Linked DNA regions of Homo sapiens: region 2 is linked to region 1. The links are contacts of gene promoters, found by promoter capture Hi-C in blood cells and fetal thymus (Javierre and others, 2016). All regions are on one chromosome and are shown on one strand. The core of a region is centred on a gene start or on the middle of the fragment in contact, and the rest is flanking DNA. Distances in the headings are between cores, read along the strand shown. Region 1 holds the start of NDRG1 (N-myc downstream regulated 1). Region 2 overlaps ZFAT (zinc finger and AT-hook domain containing).

Evidence for each region. The method cuts DNA at HindIII sites, captures the fragments that hold promoters and counts their contacts. A CHiCAGO score of 5 or more calls a contact.
Region 2: a fragment that was not itself captured here is called in contact with the fragment with the promoter of NDRG1 in region 1 in 1 of 17 cell types (fetal thymus); the score reaches 5.7 in fetal thymus.

What each region holds. Positions count from the first base shown.
Region 1 is chr8:133,294,437-133,302,106 of GRCh38, reverse strand. NDRG1 (N-myc downstream regulated 1) reads left to right here and starts at 4,855. Exons shown (of 16, transcript NM_006096.4): 1 at 4,855-4,973. RefSeq lists a silencer at 4,525-4,974 and an enhancer at 7,171-7,670. The HindIII fragment of the contact is 9,218 bases long and covers 1-7,670 here.
Region 2 is chr8:134,682,579-134,690,248 of GRCh38, reverse strand. The region is part of intron 1 of ZFAT (zinc finger and AT-hook domain containing); the gene reads left to right. Among named protein-coding and RNA genes, the nearest start is that of ZFAT, 27 kb to the left of the region's middle. RefSeq lists a silencer at 3,438-3,604 and enhancers at 3,684-4,183, 4,184-4,685, 6,445-6,534, 7,165-7,314. The HindIII fragment of the contact is 4,398 bases long and covers 1,819-6,216 here.

The DNA.
Region 1 (7,670 bases), core at 3,606-6,105:
TTTCATTGCTCACAACATGATATTACAGGCCAGGCATGCTTGCAGATAACTGGGATAATTTACTTTTACTTAAGTAAAAATCCCAGATGGCAGTCCCTCCACCTGGGATCATGAAGCAGGTAGGATCCCCTTTTCCCTCCTAACAGAGTCCAAGCAGTAAGACCGAATAAGATGGGATGAATTCAAAGAGAAACATCTGCATTTGCTCAGTTCTTCAACCAATATTTACTGAACTTCTCTACGGTCAGGTGTGCAAGATGCCAGGAGGGATGAGACAAGATGATGATGATGATGATGATGATGATGATGATGGTGATGATGACAGTGAGGATGAGGGTGAACACTTTAATGAGAGCCTTCTATATGCCAGGGACTGTTCTAGGCACTTTACATATATTAACACATATATTTATCACAATGACCCTGTATTGTTATGTGTATCTTATACATGAGGAGGCAGAGGAAGGAAATGAAATAACTTGCCCAAGAGCATAGAGTCTGCAAGTGGCAAAGATAAGATAGAAATAATTCTCCAAGAGCAGAGAGTGGTGACTTCTGGGGATAGGGAAGTGGAAAAGTGGGGAGACAAAGGCTGTTGTTTTTCCTAACAAGTTTTGAAGACTTATTTGACCAGGTTCAAGAAAAACTTGATAATCACTACAAAGTAAAAGGAAGAGGAGATGAGGTGGGCCTTTGGGTACAGATGCTTGTTTTGGAAAGTTTAGGGAGGAAGGGGTGAGAGGAACTGGGCTGCAGTACAGGAATGGGGGACTTGGGAATCAGAGGGGATTGGTTAGGGTGGGTCATTGATTGCAGTGAATGTTTACTTGTTGATTGGGCTGCAGTACAGGAGTGGGGGGCTTGGAATTAAGAGGGGATTGGTTTAGGGTGGGTCATTGATTGCAGTGAATATTTACTTGTTGATTAGTTTGATCCAGAAGAAAGGGAGAGATGGATGCTGGAGGAGAGAGGGGGTCCCGAGGGAGCCCAGGACTGGAGGTGGGAAGACACTTTTACGGACACTTTTTCATTTTGACAGACAGAAAAGATGATGGTCTGCAGCAGTAGACCCATAAATTGTGATTGAAAGGTCTGATGGTTTCTCTCACTCGTTTCCTCCATGCACAGAGAGGTGGAGTAATTTGCCCCAGGTACTACAGCTCATAAGTGGTGAAGTTGGAGCTGGGGGCCACAGACCACCGGGTTCTTCTCCATGAATCCCTGCTGCATCTTGGTCTCTCCCAACCCCGAGTACCCATGAGTTTTAAGAAAGACAGTTGGGAACAGGTGATTCCTATGGTCATTTTTGGAACATTTGGTTAGAATATTCTAGTATAAAATCTAAGTTGTTGTTAAGTAGAAATTTCCAGTGGACATTAGTCCAGAAAATCCAATCTCATCCTGTGACGGATTTGCAGCGCGTGTGCATTTACTAAGCAAATCTGATTCTACTGCTGACCAGCGAGAAAGAGGAATAATGTAAACAGTCAGTGCAATTGCACCCACATTCAGCTCCGTGAGCTTCTGCCACCTCAGCTGGCTGCGGTGGGGGATGTGGAGGTGCATGCAGCTCCCAGGTCCCAGTGAGGGGCCTCTGTATAGGGTGGGCGTCCTCTATGCTTTATGTGCATCCAGGCCTGTACTAAAGACAGTCTTTCTCCTGCAGCGTGACACTTAGCTAAGAAAACTACTTCATCTGGTGCTCAGCGGAAGAAAACATCCTTTTCAACAGGGAAGGAAAATTGGCTGTGTTGGGCTGAGGGAGGGGAGTGTGGAATCCAAATGGTGTCTTCCTCAGGCCTTCTCCAAGGTGATGTGGACTCTGATTTTAGAATGCCATCACTTGGAAAATTGTGTTCCATTGCTCAAATTCTTGCCTCCCTTCTCTGCTCTTTTCTCTTCACTCCACTCTCCTTCCTCTGTCTTCTGACCTATTCAATGCTAATGGTCTTCCAGAAGGTTAGGCTTCCCACACAAGCCCAGCCTCCTGCCAGGCAACCTCCTCGGGGTTTCAAGCTGCAAATCTGGGCTGCTCTTCGCATTCTGTCCTGAGGACCTCCTCAAAGAGACAGGCAAGGGCCTCCCCTGGCAAAATGCCCTTCTAATTCCATGCACTAGTTCCATTTGTTACTGAAGAAGTGGGCCGCCTTCCCTGCGCCTTTGAACTTGACATTCCTTATCTTGACACTCCGCACTTTTGAACTTGACACTCTTGTATCTTTAGCAGGTAAAAAACCAAAGGTGCTCACTCAATAAATCGCCGCAATGGGGAGCCTATGGGAAAATGGGTATGTGTAAGCTGGCTAAAGGATAACAGGCACACAGGCTGCTTGATCTGGGAGGGTCTTTAGACAGCAGGATGGCTCCCAGAGATGCACTTTTGTTGTTGCTGTTGTTCATGATCATGTCCCCAGGGTCTAGAATGGTGCCTGGGCATAGTAGGTCCTTAATATAGTTAGGGAATGAATGAGTTCATCTCAACCACGCTGTATGGATGGAGAAACTGCGTCTTGGGGCTGTACCATGCTATGCACCTGTAGAAAATGTTTTTGCCTTTTCAGTCCTTTCCCAGTGGCGGAGTACAGGACCCAGCTCATAAGAGCAGCTCAATTCTGTCATTTGTGGAATGACAGAATAAATAAGTTTCAGGGCCTAGGGAGGCAAGGCTCCTGCCTTAGCCTCCCAAGTAGCTGGAACTACAGCTGCATGCCACTAAGCCCACCTGATTTTTTATTTTCTTGTAGAGATGATGTCTCATTATGTTGCTCAGACTTTTCTGGAACTCCTGGGCTCAAGCAATCCTCCCACCTCTGCCTCTGAAGTAGCTGGGACTACAGGTACTTGCCACCAGGCCTGGCTAGCTTTCATCTTTTTTGTAGAGATGGGACATCACTATGTTGTGAAGGCTGGTCTCAAACTCCTGGACTCAAGAGAGGCTTCTGCATTGGCCTCCCAAAGTGCTGGGATTACAGGTGTAAGCCACTCTACCTGGACACAACATTTTATTTGAAATAAGAAAAATTTTCCCTCACTGGGAATGCTGCAGTTGAACTAGTTCAAATCCATAAAGAATGGAAGACTGCCCAGTGGTCATTCATTCACTTATTAATTCTAGATGTTAAATTTTCTAGGGTGGGGGAATGTGCTCCTACATTCAAGGCATTCTTGAATGTAGCCAAACTTTGTAGTTTAGCCAAACTTCATAGCTAATAGCCAAACTTTGTAGTTTAGCCAAACTCTTCTAGCAGCAAAACCCATGACACTGGAACTCTGTTCTTCACACTGGTCATTTGTAATAGAATAACAGAGCTTTAGCACTAGATAGGTTCTGAAAGATCATTGAATCTAATCCTCTCCCTTTGCCAGTGAGAATTCTGAAGCCCAGATTTGTTGATTTGTGATCGATAGTGTCAAAGACAGGCCTGAAACACAGATGTCCTGGGTCCTAGAGGTGCTGTTTGCCCCTCTCCATATTTCTTTTGTTCCAGAAAACCCTTCTCCAAAACTGGCCCTAATAATCAGAGGGGAAAGCCATGGCCCCTGCCTTGGGGACAGCATGGGTTGGCACAGAAAAGAGGTTTACAATTCAGCAGGAAGTGTTGTGCGTGCGCGCGTGTGTGTCTGTGGAGGCGCAGGGAGGGTCACCTGAGCTTGCCCTGGGTCTGGTCCTGGGCTCAGTGGCAAATTCAACGCTGGGCAGGTGGCCTGAGGACAATGACGGTGCCAGCTGTGAGTCAGACTTCCTTTATTCATAAAATCATGTTCCTCCATGCAGTGCTTCTCAACCTGGCTGCACGTCAGGAGCCACCTGGGTAGCTTTGTAAAAACCCCAATGCCCAGTTGGTTTGCACCCCCTGAGATTCTGATTAAACTGTTCTGGAGTCCATCTCTCTCTTTTTATTATCTATCTATTTATTTATTTTTTAATTTGGCGGCTCCTCTGGGACTTCTCATATGCAGTAGGGGTTGAGAATTGCTGGTTTCTTTGGCCAGATGGGAACATGCAGGCCAATAGTTACGCACAAACAGAGCAGCAGAGCAGGACGGTGCTAAGGTTGGAAAGGGTGAGTCATGAAAGTTCAGGAAATCAGAATAGGAAGGGGTGAGAATCCTCTCATCTGGGCTTGTGGGGCAGGAGAGAAGAGCCCAGTGGGCAAGGTCCAGTGAGTGTGCTTAGAACTGGGAAGATGAGGGGAAGGGTAAGCGCTGGGCGGCGGTGGGCAAGATGGACGAGATTAAACGGGAGCGAGGATTTCAGCGAGAGCTTTGGCGACACGGAAGGCTGAGAATCGGAGGGAGCCTGTCGGGCGAAAGCGAAGGCGGCTGCTGGGCAGGCAGCCGAATCCGGCTGGAGAGCCGAGCTGGTGAGACCTACAGGAAGTGAAGGGAGTCGCTCAGGGCGTGGCGCAACGAGACTCTTAGAAGAAACTCTGAGGCAGAGATGGGGGGCCTCCGCCCATACGGAGACACAAGGAAGTCCACATGCACACGCACGAGCGCGCACATGAACACGCACAAGCACACAAACGCCTCCTCCGGGCAGGGCACACGCGCCCGCTGCACAGGCCGAGGCCCTGGACTCGGAGGGGACTGCAGAGCCGACCCACAACCCGGGCCCCGATGCCCCTCCCGGCCGCGCCCCTACGACTGCTTGCGCAACAGGCGGCGGCTCCAGTGGGCGCCCGCCGCGCGCTGCCGGAGCCCAGCCCAGCCCGGCGCGCCCGGGAGGAGGGAGCAGGGAGCGGGGAAGGGGTGTGTCCCGGCTGCGTGCTGGGACTGCGAGGGTCTGGGAGGGGCGAGGCGCGGGGGCGGGGCCGCGGCGCCTATAAAGTCGCCCTCCGCCCGGACGTAAACAAACCTCGCCTGGCTCCCAGCTGGTGCTGAAGCTCGTCAGTTCACCATCCGCCCTCGGCTTCCGCGGGGCGCTGGGCCGCCAGCCTCGGCACCGTCCTTTCCTTTCTCCCTCGCGTTAGGTAAGCCCGCGCCCTCTTCTCCCAGGCGCGACGCGGAGCAGAAAGGGGCCGCCCGTGCGGTGCCGCTGGAGCGCCAGGACCGCCCTTTGTAGCCCCGCGTACTCCAGGAGTAAGCGCCCCGGAGCTGCAAGTGCGCGGTCACCCCGGGGCGCGGGCGCGAGGGGGCTTTGGGTGCAGACACCGCTGAAGTGGGGGGTTCAATTACGGAAAGGGAGGAAAAAAAGACAGGGTCCCATTCATCTCCCCCCTAGCTGGGGATTGGGGTTCTGGAGGTCGGGAAGGGGGCGATGAGACGGTCCGAAAAAATACCAGGATAGCGTTTCCTGGCGTCGTCTCCGAATCCCAGCTGGCGCCGCTGGCAGGGGTGCGCGCTGGACGTGGGTGCAGAAGGGACTAGGTGAGTGTGTGTGTGTGTGTGTGTGTGTGTGTGTGTGTGTGTCTGTGTCTGGGAACGGAGAGATTGCGCGCGAGTGTGTAGATGAGGGGTTGGTAGAGGTGAGTGGCGCTGGCAAGGAGGCTGGAGAGGGGGGCGTGGGTGTGTCTGGCTTGCAGACTGGGTCGGGAACGGGTGTGGATCCGAGAGGCTGGTGGCGCTTCAGTCCCGTAGCACACACAGGGCGGTGTGCATGTGTGAGTGTAAGCGTGTGTGTGGGGGGAGGGTCCAGGGTGTGTCACAGTGCAACACGCGAGCCGGAGCAAGTGTCTGCGAGCGCCACTGGGCAGGGTGCGCCCCCGGAGGAACCCGGGATTGGCGCATCGGCGGCGTGGGAGAAGTGACCTGGGCGAGAGGGGTCTCGCGGACATTTGGCGGCCCCTTGAGCTGGCTGGAGCTAGGAGTGGCGTCATTTTCGCCTCCGCCCACCCTCCCCCGCTTTCCTCCCCTCCCCTGCCTCTGGTGCTGGCCGCTCCTGCCCTCCACGGGGGAAAACAGCTGGAATTACTTCGACGTTCCTGGGGGATCCGCCGCGGTCTCTGATTCAGCCTCGGGAGGAGATTTCGGGCTGGGCTTGGGGAATGCGGCTGGTTCTGGGGGAAACACGCTGTCACGCCTCTGTCAAATTAGTAGCTGGAGCTGGGATTTAGTGGGTCGGTTCCTTACCCACCCCTCCCCCATATCCCCCGCCTGTTGTCCCTGCTGTCCCTGGGGGTCCTGAACAGCACGCCTCTGTGGCTTGGAAGTGGGAGATGCCTGGCAGTGGGTGGGGGAGGCAGGGCCCTTGGTTATCTTATGCCCATCCAAGAACACCCCTTCCTCACGGACGCTGGGGGCACTTCAGTTTGTTTGGTTTCTTTAAGCTACTGGGAAATATCTAATATTCAGAAGTCAGCCAGTGGCCAGGCAGGAGGGCGGTAGACATCCTTATAATACCCATCAGCTGCACGGGACCTTCTCCTAAGCTGCCTCAAAAGAACATATCTAAATACAAACCCCCTGTTCTTGCTGCAGAAATGTAGTTTCAAGGCGAATTTTTCAGTCTAGACTCTTCCTGTTGAGAAATTCTGGCGTTCTTATTGAGTTTCACAAATGTGATTGAAATAAGCAAGGTACAGAGGGGGCAAACCCCAGCGCCTTTCTTGGAAGGGCTGCCTTCTGGTGGGGAAGACACACGGCTGGAGACGCAGACCGGTTCTGTGTGGTGTGTGTGGCGGCAGAGCCAGCCCCAGGCTGGGGTGGCACAGTGTCGGGGATGAAGGAAGGTGTAAGGGAGAGAGAGGGTTTTGGTGTGGATGGAAAACTGGGTGTTCCCCTGACCTGTGACTTCTTAGCTTTGTGGGACCGTGTCTCCCACTGCATCTGGGCAAGGAGGAGGATTTGCCTGCCCTGCCCTGTAACCTGGCCCCTGGCCCAGCGCCTGGCAGGTGGGAGGAGTTGAAATATGCACATGGGATGAAGTGGATGGCTCTGGGTCTTCTGCCCCATTCTCCTGTGAACCAGCAGGTTGAGTTTCGGGCGAGGTAATAGACTGTGCATGGGTGGAGGTGTTGGCTTTTGCTTTTGAGGGATCCTGGAGTGTCTGTTTGGGTCTCTTGTGAGGAAGTTCTTTTGGAGCAACAAAGTTTGATCATTTGGAATGGAATAAAAAACTCACACAGGACCTACCTAGTCCAACTTCTTTCCATTTTACAGATGGAAAATGAGGCACAGGGATGGGGAGGGATGTGCCCAGGCCGAACTGAGCTGGAGCTCAGCTTTGTGAGAGGCTCCTGGGTGGGACTGAAGGCAGTGGAAAGGGTTCCTGGCAGGATTTTGCCTGCCTGCTATGGAGGGGCGAAAGGAAATTGCATCTTCATTGAATTTCTGGTGAGGAAACTTTTGAGGCCAAAGGGGCAGAGCGGAATGATTTTTTTTAAGTGTAAATCAGGTGTTCTTGAGAGATTAGCAAAGCCAGCCTGAAGGGCAGGGGCTTAGAGGCTGCAGCCCCCTGAGTTGGCCTTTGACTGAATGGGGCTGCCCCCCCCCCATGACAGAAGACAGATCTCAACTGAGCTGAGGGCCCCCCTGGGTTACGTTGAAATCCGCTGGCCTGAACTTGCCTCCTCATGGACCTGAAAGAAAGATAGCATTGTGTTTTTCGGGTGGCCCAAAGCTGCAGTTCTTCCTTGGGACCCAACCCCAGAGAATCCCATTCCAGATGTGACTCAGAGGCCTTGTCCTGGGAGAGAAAGCGTGATGACTCAGCATCTGAGACTCAAGCA
Region 2 (7,670 bases), core at 2,768-5,267, 1.4 Mb before region 1:
AAAGAGTTTGGGGGTGGTGGAAGCCTTCTCCTACCCCGCTGGAGGTCAGGGAGTAGAACCTGTGTATTACATTTCTCTCGTCTGCAGGGAAAAGTTGCCTGGTATTCTGGAAATAATGTGAATACTGGGTTCATGCCTAGTCCAAACTTTGATGTGCTGTAGGTGAAAAATAACACACTGGCTGTTGAAGACTTAGTACACAAAATTTAAAATTTCTCATTGATCTTTGAAAATAGATTGTAAGTGAAATGATTCTATTTTGGATATACTGGGTTAAAGAAAACATCATTAAAATTATTTTTTCTTGATTATTTTATTTTAATATGGCTACTGGAAAATTTTAAATGACATCAGTGGCCATGCTGTGTATCTGTTGGACAGCAGTGGCCTGGACAAAGCATCCAGCCTCTTGCCCCGTGCTTTCACAGGCCTGGGCTGGAGTGTGTGTCCTTGTGCAGAGTCACGCATCTGTCCGTGTCCTCCAGTCTAGGAGGCGTCCCTGGTGGGGGCCATCTCCAGGAATAGTGCCTAGTACCTTTTAAGAAAAAAGTAGCTGTTGACTGAATTCGGCCTTCTATATTGTTTTCAAGCCTGTTTCACCTGGTAGATTGAATACCTTGACTGCTGGAAATGCTACTTGTTTTTCTCTTTCATGGCTCCCTCTGCTCTCTATCGTAGTATGCGAATCACATCTTTGTTGAATTAAAACATCCCTGAATTAGGGGAAGGAGGCTGGGTAGAGTCAGCATTTCTAAGGACTTGGGTTTTGTCTGGCAGGAATTCTCACCCACCATGGTGTTGATGCAGGGCAGGTTCTTGGCTTCGCTCAGGAGGGAATTCAAGAATGAGCTGCCGGTGGTAGTAGAAAACAGCTTTATTGAGGCAGTGACAGTGTTACCGCTCCTGTGGAGCAGGGCTACCCCGTAGGCAGAGCGCCAAGAGTAGCAGTGCTTTGCGGCCAAATTTATACCCACTTTCAATGACGTGCTAATTAAGGGGCAGATTATTCAGAAATAGCTAGAAAGTGGGTGGTAACTTCCGGCATTGCCATGGCAAGGCAGTAACTTTTGGGTGTTGCCATTGCAGTGGTAAACTGTTACGCTCTGGTGGGCGTGTATTATGGTGATGGGCAGTGAGGGGTGCTTTAGGCCCCTCTTCCCAGTTCTGGCCAGTCTTCAGTCAGGTCTGGAGTTGAATCCTGCCTGCCTTCTACCTCAGTGTGATGTTAGTAAACTGCAGAAACAGGGAAAAGGGCAGGCAGCACCTTCATCTGCTGTGTGCCAGGCACTGTGCTTGGTGCTTCACTGGAATAAACTCCTGCATTTTGAAAACCCCAGGAAGCAGAGTGGGGAAACCATGGCTGGACACGTCTCATGAACAAATGGGTTGAATCCCACCTCCTGCAGCTCTCGGTTCCCTGAGGCTGCAGCAAGCTCTTATTTGGTCTCTTCCTTCTCTTGATGGGTTGAGGATGCGATGGGATAGAAAATGCGGGTAGAATTTGAGGCCCCTGAGGGAGAGGGTGGAAGTCGAAGGTGGCATGTGTGGGACCCTGAACGAGTGTTGTCTTTCCAGAGCTGGAACTGGGTGACAATTCCCTGCTCCCTCCCAGGGCTCCTGACAGCTCCTCCAAGCACCTGCTGTGGCTCAAACTCTGGAAACCCAAGTCCTGGCTCCTTTTCTTCCTTTTGTTTCCTCCACCTTCCTTCTCCCCTTTCTCGTGGCTCTTTCTTTTCTCAGTTCTTGGGATTTGGATCCCTGATTTCCACTTTCTGTCATTATTGTTGCTGTGTTGTTTATATTGTCTCTCAAAAAGCTTCTGAATTGCCTGTGTCTTTGGTTTCCCTGAAGAAAGTGTATGTTTGTGTGCGCATGTGTGCTGTATGTGCATTTGTGTATGTACACACGTTTTGCGGGTGCATGTGTGCGCATGTATATGTTTTATGTGTGTGTATGTGTATTTGTATAGATGTGTGTTAAAGGACAGCAGAAGCAACTAGGGACCCAGTAGGTAGCTTTAGCTGTCTGGCTGAACGTTTCTGGATTTAAAAAATTCTCTGTTCTCTTCAGCATCGACACCATCTTTAGCAGTCTACAAAGCCCTTTTTTCCCAGTATTCCCCTACATAACACCCCCACCACAAGATCCCCCCCACCGCCCATCAATCTTACCAGGGCAGCTGTGGTTATCTCCATTTTTGAGCTGAGTCCCTACAGATTCAGGAAGGGAAAGGTGGCTCCAGTCACACTGAAGTGGCTGATGCCATGGGGTTTGAACCAGGGCTTCTGAGCCGAGCTCAGCGCTGAGGCTGGCTTTCAGGCAGCCCTTTACTTCAGAAACAAGACGAGAGGCAGGCCTGCCCCACGGAGGAACAGAAATACACTAAAGCAACGCAGACCAACAGCTGTCAACCCGGATGTGCGGTGGTGATGGGCATTGCTATTTCTCCCCAGTACTCTAGAAAATGGGAGAGGATTTTGCTCCTTTTACTTTTGATGTGGAAATGACCACAGAGACTTGGTTACTTAGAGGCATCACTTGAGAGCTGTGGGTAGGCGGCTCTTCAGGGCCACCTCGTCAGTTTGCAAATGGGGAGCTGTCGTGTCCAGGGTCTGCAGCGGGACAGGGGGTGTTCCTGTACCCTCAGCGCTTCCCACACATCTGCTCTCGGGGTGGGGGGCTGTTCCTGTTTATGTAAAATGATTTGTGGTGCTTTCCTGAGGGCCACATTTTAAAGCTATGATTATTGTGTTAAATGTGAATGTATTCCATTGCCCAGGGGCTCTCATTTTGAGAGTGCTTAAAAATAACTTAAAAGAATTTATGCCAAGTTTCAACATGGAAGAGATGTGTATGCATAAAATTATAATGCAACTGTTGGCCCAGCCCTAATTATAGCTGATGCTGAGTATTTCTCATTTTATTTTGTTAATCCAGCTTCAGCAAAGAAACACCCACGGGATTTCTCTCTTGCCTTTAATAAACACGTTAACTGTGTGAGCTATGGGAGTTGGCATGTTCATCAGCATTTTATGAGATGCATGATAATCATTTCACAAATTAGTGGTGTGCATTTATTGGAGCTTCAGCCCACTGAGCATCAGAGCTGGAAGGGAGGCACCTTGGAGATGATTTATGGGCAGGGGAGCAGCAGGAGGCAGGAGGGTTGGTTCATATTGTGTCCCTGCAGGGTGGAGGGGAGGTGGGTGCTGGTGGGTCTGCCCCACACCCTTGCTTTGGTTGAAGATGCTGTCTCTGTCTCTCTGCACGTTAGCCTCTGCATAGGGCTTGAAGACTAGGTTCCACTTTCAAACACTCCAAGGCCACTATTAATTTGGGCTGCTCTTCTTTCAGAAGAGACAATGAGGGATAAAGAAATTCAGAGACGTATGCAGAATCCATCCATTGGAAGTGTGAGAGCCACTTAGGAGCTGGGAGGCCTGGGCTTCTGACAAGGTGGGTACCCCTCATGATGCTTCATGTAGAATGGTGCCTCTGAGGGGCCAGGCACTAAGCTAGGCACATCGTCTTCGTGATGTCCTGCCGTCCTCTCTGCAGCCCTGTGCAGAAGGAAACTGAAGCTCAGAGAGGCCAAGTGTGTGTGCGCAGGGTCACACAGCTACGAGGGCCAAAATAGTGTTCCGATCTATGTTGTTTTAAATGAGAGGTTCACTTGTGAATCAGAATATCGTTTTTTTTCCCTATATCTTTTCCTTTAAAATTTGCTGTTCACATTTTCTTAGATTAACGTGTAACATACATGTAGAGAAATATGCATAGGATAAACAGCTTAGTGAATGTTCGCAAACTGAACTCACTGCATAACCAGTGAGTAACCAGTATCACATCTGGAAGCAGAACTCCCCTGCACCCCAGAAGTCTCTGGTCCCAGCCCCCAACCCAGGATAACCAGGACTCAGGGCAGGGTGGTTGTGCCTTCCTTGTAGCCATGTCAGTGGAAGCATGCCACCTGGACCCTGGGTTAGGCTTATTCCTCTCCGTGTCATTTCTGTCACATAGAAATGTGGGCATACACGGGAAAGCCCCATAAGAGTTGAAAATAACTTACTCAGGTTGAGAATTGGCCAGGTGGCGGCCAATCTGTGGTCAGAGTTGGTCTGAGTTACCTGCTGGGGCTGGCCAGGGCACCTGAGCTGTCAGGGCAGCTGCACCCCCTCTGGGGACCAGCAGCAGCAGTGACTCCACCTAGGAAGGGCAGCGGGGTCTGGTCCTGGGCCAAGGATGTGTGTTTGGGTTGTAGCCCTGCTGTGTGCCCACCTGCTGTATCACCTTGTAATCCCCTACCTGGCCCACTTAACTCGTCTTAAGATGGGAACAGCAGCCCCTCACTTACTGGGTTAATGTGAAGGTTAAGTGGGGTGACGGGGAAGGCACCAGCCAAGAGTTAGGCAATCAGTAAATACTAGCCATGTTTTTTAAAATTATGGCCTAGTCAGATGTAGTGCCCTGGTGGGCCACTGGAGGGTGATGTTAGCACGTATATGTCGCCCTCCCGTTGATGAAGGTCTGTGCTTTCTGCTTGACAGTAACTCCCGGTGTTGTTTTGCTAAAAGACTGTCTGCCTCTTACCTGGTGGTCTGCTGTTCCCTGGTTCTGGACCTGCTGCCAACCTGTGCAGTGGGCATGCTCATTAAGTATGTGGTTTGGGGTGGGTTGGTATCACTTATATCTGGCATACTGTTATTTTCCAGCTGTTGCTCCCCGAAATGAATTGCTGTAGTAAATTATAACAAACACAGCAGAGTCCCCTTCTCCACGTAGCTACTTTTCTTAGTTGTAATTAATCATTTGAAATGTCCCTCTAACCATGACGCTGGCTGTGGGCTGGGGAGACCAAGACTTGCATTCCTCACAGTATTGCTCACTGTGAGCATTACAGGAAATAACAAGCGATTTCCTGTAGCAGGGCTAGGTACCAGGTGGGTGGGCAGATGTGGTGGTCGACTTGGTGGGTCTTGGTTAAGTTCTGGCTTTTTAATTTATCTGACTGGGGGCTCTTTGGCAGCTCACTAACCTGAGCCCCAGGTTTCTCCTCTGTAAAAAGGGGATGGTGACGGTGGTGGTGGTGATGGGGATGACACCATGTACTGGGCTGTTTCACAGGACAGCAGGGAGGGTCCAGTGTGGTCACTAATAGGAACGTCTGTGTGACCAACAGGAGGCAGCGTAAACACCTCCTTGCAGCTAGTGGCTGGGGCAGGGGAGGGTGGGGGTGCCACTTTGTGCCATGAAGTCTTGATGTCTTCCTCTCCTTCCCATGGCTGACACGTGGAAACTCCTAGAACACCAGCTCTGGGAGCTCCTGTGCCTTTTCCTGGCTGGCCTCCTCTAATCCTGGTGGGCTGTCTGCTCACCTGGGCACTCCTCGCACCCAGCCCCCACATTTGCAGTTCTGGAATCTGGCACTTTGAGGTTAGGCTGCCCACACCTGCCACACTTACCAAGTTTCTCGTTGCAATGAATGAAACTTTTGTGCCAAGAATGCCTTTTCCCCACGTAATCTAAATCTATCTTGCTACTGGTTAAACTAGTTTCCTGTCTTCTTTTATTTTTTGGGTCATTTTATCAATCAAACATACCTTTATTACATAAAGGAAGGGAGAAGTGTAAGACATATCCCTACCCTGTCCAGTCAAACATCTAATCAACGTCAAGGAGAAATACCAGGAACCCAGCAGCTGTGTCTAGAGCTGGCGTGTCCCTATGGTGTGGGCAGCCCTGGCCTTGATCTCGGTCTTGAATGAGTGTTTGGTCCTGACCAAGACAAGTTGACGTGTCTGAGGCCCAAGCTGTCTGGGGATCAGTAAGTCTTCCTCCTGTAAGATGGAGATCTTATTATTTTGTCACTTGCTATCGCTTTATTTCTAACACCCATGTAAGTGTTTTTTTAAATTTAATTTTTCTTGGATTACACATGTAATTCCTGTTGTGTAAGATGTGAAAAACTCAGAGAAAATCTCCAAACTGGAAAAATCACACTAATTGTCATCCACTTACCCAAGCCAGGCACTGGTATGGGGTGTTAGGGAGCTGGGTGGATGGGCAGAAGGTGCTGGGTCGTCTCCTCTGTCCCTTTCAATGTCCCTGTACTCTCTCTTTCTCGTGGTCTGTGTGTCTCTGTTTTTTTCAGACCAGTTTCCTTGGCTTTTCCCCTGTAAGTTAACAGCTTTCCCCTAGTCACCCAAGTGGAAAGCTTTTTATCAGAAGTTGCAAATTGGCAACCCGTAGGCCAGACCTAACCTGCAGATTTGCTTAGTTTGGTCTGCAGGGGCTGCAGAGGTTTTTTTCTTTTCTTTTTTTTCTTTCCCAGAAAAATCTTATTTGATGGCCAGTGCTTAAAAATCAGGGGATTCCAACTACAAATTCAATATTTGGGCCTCCATTGACTAGACCTGGGAGGCAGCTACCCCATCAGACAGAGCAGGCTTTCTAAGTGCCCCACCCCCTGTCTCCAGACCTCCAGGATGGGCCTCCTGCTTGCGGGGCAGGAGCTTCTTGCATCCATTTCCTGTCCAGGTACCGGTCTGTGGCGGGGGGCTCTTGGTGGAGCCGCCACAGCTCTCAGTGTGCCTGCCCTGCCTTTAACCTGTCCTCTTTCCACACTCAAGGCTCTTCCAACAGGCAAGGCTCTTGGTTCTGCCCCCACTGGCTGTGTGGCTTCCACTCCCTTCTCCTTTCCTTCCTCCAGCTGTCTGGCCACCTCCTGGAGCAGTTCAACTTCCCCTTTTCTGACAAACCTCTTCCAGGTGCTCCAGCCACAGGGATCTCTGCCTTCTCCACACGTGCTTCTGTGGCCTGTGGTTAGTATGTTCATATGTAGATGCGCACACATACAACCTGCTTTCCTACCTAATTTTTAAGCTCCTTGCGATTCATCAAGTAGCTGTGGAACCATACAGGCCTGTATTTGATTCTTAGGCAAGTTATAGCTTTCTCATCTGTAACGTGGGATAATCATATCTTTGTGTCTGACACATTAGCAGAGCTACTGTGTACAGCTGTGCAGGTTACACACTGCACAAAGGAGCCACTTCTTCTTTTGTTTTTGTATCCTCCATGCCCCCAAGGGAGCCACTTCTAAGGGGGCTCATTTCACATAGTGAATTTGTATGTTTATTATGAGTTTTCTACAAATGGCTGCAAAGCGTATTATTCCAACAAACTCAATATGTTATGACCATTTTCTGACAGGGGGTGCTAGTGTCTTAAGGAAGGGTGCGTTTGTCCATTTCTCACAGAGGTGCCTTAAGGGCTAGCAGCAACCCAGCTTGTCCAGATCAAATGTGAGAGGGAGTACGAAAGCCTCTGGTACTCAGGAAATGTTTATCTCCTCTCCCTTGAAAGTAGGGTTGTTGTGCTGCCATAGAAGTGAGCTCAGAAGCCAGGCTTACAGCCTGAGTGTGTACGGTGTGCAGAGTGGGGAAAAAGGGCCTTACAGGGGAGGGAGCCGAGGTTGGGAGCCAGGCTCTCTCCCCAGCTAACATCCAGCCTGCCCAGTTATATGGAAATGTTTCTGAACTTCATTGATTCAAAGACTTTTTAATTTAATTTAATTTAATTTTATTTTATTTTTGAGATGGAGTTTCACTCTGTCACCCACAATGGAGTGCAATGGCACAATCTCTGCTCACTGCAACCTCCGCCTTCCA